2 separate regions of the Homo sapiens genome follow, and region 2 is linked to region 1. Evidence: promoter capture Hi-C in human tissues and cell types (Jung and others, 2019). All regions are on one chromosome and are shown on one strand. Each heading gives the region's core, a stretch centred on a gene start or on the middle of the fragment in contact. The rest is flanking DNA. Distances are from core to core; before and after follow the strand shown.

Region 1 (2,715 bases), core at 158-2,657:
AGCACCTGGGCTGTTCTGGAAGTTGCAAGAGCTGAAAGCAGAGGAGAGAGGCACACATTACCTCACTGCTGGGAGGCTGGGCCCAGCGAGGGGAGTCTGGGGGAGAAGCGGGGAAGGCAGGATGGAAGTGGTGGGAATAACACCATGTATTATTCCTGTGGAAGACCCAGAGTGGTAAGAAGTGGAGGGTCCTCCTGTTTCCCTCACGGAGTCCCCATTAAGGCCCCACCCAGCTCCAGCTTGCCAGTGGTCATCCCCACGGTCCCTTATCTTCTCTGGCGGTGCTGTCTTCCCCTCACCAGGACATTCAGTTGGTGACTGTCCACCCCTCTGATAAGGTGAGTGGGGGCCAAGTGTCTGGGCTAATAGAAGCTAGAGGGTTTCTGAGTAAGCCGCTGCTGTCACCATGGCCATGGCCACCCATCTGTCACCTGCTCATAGCGCTTCTAGGAAGGGAAGTTTCCCAAAGGTCACAGTCAACCTAGAGGGTGCCACCCACCTCCCTTGTTGGGCCACCCGGCTGGTGCCCAGACCCTGGCCAGTGACAGGGTAGAAAAATAGCTCGGGCGATTGCGTGTGTGACCACGGCTGGCTTTACCCGGATGCAGGGTTCTCACGGCACACAGTTGCCTGACTGAGCCACGTCTTTGTCCGTGTTTGCATGTGCCTGCCTTGTTCCCCCTGTCTGAGATAAAACTCCCGAGGCAGCCAACGCACTCCACCTTGTTTTTCTGGCACCTGCCCCAGACACCTGCCACAGCTGCAGGAGGAAGACATTGGCAGCTGCAGAGGTCTGACACAGGGTGCTCAGGAGGACGGCTGGGGTCCGAGATTCCACCCATGTACTCTGGGGTCTGGGGGTGGCCTTGCACTTTCCTGTCTGGCTTTTTTGCTTCTTCCACTTAGATTTGGGAGGAGAGTCCCTGCCCAGCCCTTCCCACAATGGCTGCTAAGAGTGAAGGCTGGATGCTATAGACGCAGGACTGAAGCAGCTCTCTGCCCACAAATTCCCTTCTTCCCAGTACACAGCAAGGGGCGGCCCCCCTTCCTCTGGCCACCACTGTCTGCCAAGACCCTCAGCAGGCAGTGCCTCCAGGCTGACTTCACCCCCTCCCAGGGCATAGCCCCCTTTTCTCCGCTTGTTGTTCATGCTTGCCTTCCAACCCCAGTTTAAAGACAACACGCTCCAAAGCAAAGTTAAAATCTGCTCCTTCCTTCAGCGAGATGGAAGGAAGGGCAGAAGGAAACATTCCCTCCTTACTTACTGTCCTCGATGTCCCAGGGGAGGATGGGGGACCTGGGAATCACTTGGTGCTCGTGCAAGGAGGAAGCCGGCAATGAGTTTCTGCTCAAGTCCATGCCAGCCAGAGAAAGCCACCCTGACCACGTCCAGAAGTCAGTGTGTTGTGAATCCCAGCAACTGAGCAGGCTCCAGCAGGGATGGATGAGCTCACCAGGCAATGGCCTAATGGGTTAACTCTTTGTGAGCTGCTGGCATGGGTCCTCGGACTGTGGCTTTCTCAGCTCTGCTCAGCCACAATTAGATGAATCTTGTGAAAAATTCATGATGCTTCTCTGCAGTCTGTCTTCAAGTTTCATGGAGGCGTGCGTTCCGTTGGTGCCTGGGCAGGGCAGCTTCTCCTGACCCAGGCTCAGAAATCAGAGGACCTGGAGTTTCTGGGTTGGTGGAGGTGTGTAGTGGCCATGGTGGTGGGGATGAGTTGCCAAAGAGTGGATCAGACCCTCCGGCTGACTCAGGCTACACTGGCTCTGTTCAGTGCAGGCCTTAATAATTTGATCTGGGAACTCTCTGTGTTCTGGATGTTGGAGGGGGCACATGCAGACTTAGAAAACATCCTTGGTTGCAAGATGGCAGGGACACTTCTTGGAACTTTCCAATGCACGGGTGGGCACCCTATGTTACAAACTGCCAGGAGCCCACAACACGACTTACCTCCATCCCAGGCCTGACATCTCAAATAGAGGCAAAAGAGCTTGTTCCCCATCGCTCTTCCAATCATTCCTCATGGTGCCCTGTTGCTTTTTATGGGATGCCTGCTGCCACAATGATGAGAAGAGAATGATGCAAATCAGTGCAAGGAGGATGAAAAGGTTTTCTCCTCTATAAACCTTTACCAGACTGTGCTTCGGGAAGCTGGGTGTGAGCTGTTGAGTGGCCAGTTCTCAAGATGCTGACGGATACACTGAGGTCAGCAAAATTGCCTATGATTCTGGAAGGCATGCTGGCTCCTGCCCTGGCCCACACTAACCTGAGAACGTGGGCAGCTGTTGTTCCTCAGGATAACTGGTGGGTGGGCATCCTTGCTACTGGGAACAGTACCCTGAGGGGCTTCCTCTGTGGTCTGCCGGGAGGGCTTTCCTAGGAGCCATCCAAGGAAGCTGCTGTCAAGGCAGGTATGAGACTCTCCCATATTTGGCATCTTGAGTTCCTCATCTGTGCAATGAGCAGGAGATTCTGAGCCTAGAAGGCTCTGTAGAGGTTGCTGTGTGATCCATGCCTAGAGAAGCAGAGAGCTAGGAGGATGAGCCTGTCCCCTGAGCTGCTGTGAGGGATCAGGCTGAGTACGCCCTCTGTCCTCTGTGAAGATGAGCGTCTCTGCTCAGGGCAATGAGCAGGGAGAGGCCTGCCTTGAGTGTCCAGGGGAACTTGACTTTGAAGGTTTTTGAGGATGTGAGTTGCTTTGCCTTAGGTGC
Region 2 (2,715 bases), core at 77-2,576, 440 kb after region 1:
TCTGTCTTCTATAGCTCCCCAGCCATGCTCTGCTCTTTGCTTGGTCTGGAATGTTCTCTTTTCGTTCACTTTCCCTCAGCCTAGCCTGCTCTTCCTTATCTCCCAGGCTCCCGCGTGGCTCTCACTTCCCTGGCTCCCTGCCCGGGGGCCTTTCTCCACTGGTCCTTGGTGGCATCCTGGGCTCCTCCGTCCTTGCAGAGAGGCAGTGGAGCGGGCTGACTAGGACTGTTGGCCCCAGTTTGGAACCCCGCTCTGCCTTCACTAGCTGGAAGTAGGGCTTGATCACTTTACTTAACCTTCCGTGCTTCAGTTTCCTGATCTGTAAACTGGGTATAAACTCTCCTACTTGTGTTGTGAAGATTGACTTAACCACCTCTGGGCTGTCTGGTTTCTCTAAGGTGTGTCTGGTATCAGCATAGCTCACCTGACAATCTCTAATCCCTGGCTCAGAGCCTGGCATACTCAAGCTGTCCAGTAAGTACTCACAAAGTGACTAGCAATGATGTGAACCCCATATTTGGGTCAGAAGTCCCAGTAAGTCCCACGGGGAACAGTAGGTCATATGGCAGAGTCACGAAGGTTTAGGATGAAAGAACAGAGCAAGTTGAGATGTCTGGAAACAGCTATGTCTTTAGACTGCTTTGAAACAACCTGGAATCCAGATCCAAGGTGGTGGCATGCCAGCTGTTTTCATGGCTGGAGTGTGATGCCTGAGTTCCTGTGTCTTGTTGTAGACACTCGTGCCCCTGGCCTGCCAGAGAGAGTGATACGGCTCCCAGGAAAGCTGGAGAACGCTGTTCTTCAAATCATATTAGCAACTAACAGTACTTTTAAAATGCTTTCCATGGACTGACCTATCTAATTCTTGTAACAAGCCCATGAGGCAGGTACCATTATAATGCCCACTTCATAGATGAGGAAACAGGTTCAATGGGGATTAGAAGCTTAACCAAGGTCACACAGCCAGGAGGGGGTGCTGACTGATCTGGGCGCTAAACACAGACCCTAGAGCTCAAGCCCTGAGGTCAAATTGACCAGAGGTACAGACAGGGCCCCGGGAGCCCCCTCCAGCTACGTGAATCCTGTTCTGAAGCCGTGTGTCTACACTTCTCATTTGTCCCAGTGCATGGATCTAGGGCTGTGGGGAGGACACCAGAGGAGGCCACTGCTTGCTCAGCACAAGGGCAGGCGTTCTCCTGATGTGAGCCCCTCTGCTCCAGGTCGGACCACCTTGCCATGCAACGAGCTGCTCACTCCGTGATGATTTTAAGCAAAGGAGAGGAGCAACTTGGGCATTTCCAGCTTGAGAGGAAGGCTGGCCTAGCAACTTCCAAGGTCCTACTTTTCGTGTGTCATAATAGAAACAGTAGCTGGGATTTGTTGAGGGCTGACTGTCCACGCCCTGGGCTAGGAGCCTTCATTATCATAGTCCTCGTGTAGGCAGTGTCCCCCTCCCAGTAGATAGGAGGCTACAGCGACATGGAGTGATGGGCAGCCTGCCCGCAGGCGCAGGGCTTGTCGATGTCAGGGTGTGGTCTGACCTAGGCAGCCCAGTGTCCAGGACTCACTCTCTCACTGGCTGCACTTCTCTTGGGATTCTGTGACCCAGGGTCAGAGCCCAGGCGAAACTTATGGCCAAATCACCATTCTGTTCTCAGTGCCAGGCTTGTCCTGCGAGGAAGCGCATCATTTTATGCCATTCAGGAAGGGAGTGCTAAGCACCTGTGTTCTTCTCCTGGGACATAAGTGGCTTTTCTCAGCATAGGATTGCCTTAAGGACAGGTGTGCCCAGAAGCAAAGCTTTCCAGAAGCCAGAGGAGCTGCCCTTGTGATGATGGGACCAGCTGTGCCCAACTTGTCCCACCCTTAGGGCTTCGTCCTGCCTGGTGGCTGCACAGGCTTGGCCAGAAAGGACCCATCCCCTGCCCCTCCCATCAAGGAGGCAGCCCGAATTGGGGACAGAGAGAGCCTACTTTCCCCACGTGGCCGGGGGAGAAAGGAGAACCACGGAGCTGGCTCACTAATCACTCACCCCTACACCCAGGGAGCCAGAGGATTTAGAATATGGCCGGGCTGTTCCCAAAATGAGGTGCCGGTCAGAGGGAAAGCCAAAGCACGGAGGACAGGGTTAGAATTCGCAATTACCTCCATGAGTTGGCAAAACGAAGGAAGCAACAGAGCGCGGTGCAGTGACAGGAGCGAGAGGGTGCTGGGCAAGGGCGGCCCTGAGCAGCAGGAAGTGAGGGAGAGCAGCCATATGCTCCTGGCCCCCAGGGATGTGGAGCGTGGAGCTCTCACCAGGAGGGAGAGCCCAGCCTCCATCTGAGTGGCCTTTAGCGGTCTTTTCCTCATGGGCTTAATGTCCGTTGCCTACAGAGTAAAGGCTATTTGGGAAACCAAAGATGGAGGAGGAGACGGCATCCGTAGCTAGATGTGCCACACCAACTGTGTACTGAACACTTCGTTAGGGCCTACAGGAGCTGAAAGGTGGATTAGACACAGTCCTGGCCTCAGGGGCTTAACTCCAGGAGCAGAAAGACGAGACAATACAAGAAAATAATTGACTCTACAGGTGCCCCTCCAGAATTATAGGCCACATGCTCAGAACGCTCAGAGGGAGGTTGTGTGGTCGGAGTGATCATCACCAAGTGCTTGAAGGGCAGGTAAGATTGAATGGGCGAGGAGGAGAGTGGAGGGTACTCCTGGAGGATGGAA

What was found. Contacts are between HindIII fragments. The study calls those that stand out against the background at their distance.
Region 2: a fragment that was not itself captured here is called in contact with the fragment with the promoter of PIRT in region 1 in 2 of the 25 tissues and cell types used here (H1 embryonic stem cells and dorsolateral prefrontal cortex).

Annotation. Positions count from the first base shown.
Region 1 is chr17:10,836,680-10,839,394 of GRCh38, forward strand. It overlaps PIRT (phosphoinositide interacting regulator of transient receptor potential channels), which reads right to left and starts at 1,408. Exons shown (of 2, transcript NM_001101387.2): 1 at 1,266-1,408. RefSeq lists an enhancer at 219-720 and a silencer at 2,417-2,641. The HindIII fragment of the contact is 18,169 bases long and covers 1-2,715 here.
Region 2 is chr17:11,272,233-11,274,947 of GRCh38, forward strand. All of the region lies in intron 2 of SHISA6 (shisa family member 6), which reads left to right. Among named protein-coding and RNA genes, the nearest start is that of SHISA6, 32 kb to the left of the region's middle. RefSeq lists an enhancer at 1,554-2,055. The HindIII fragment of the contact is 5,649 bases long and covers 1-2,715 here.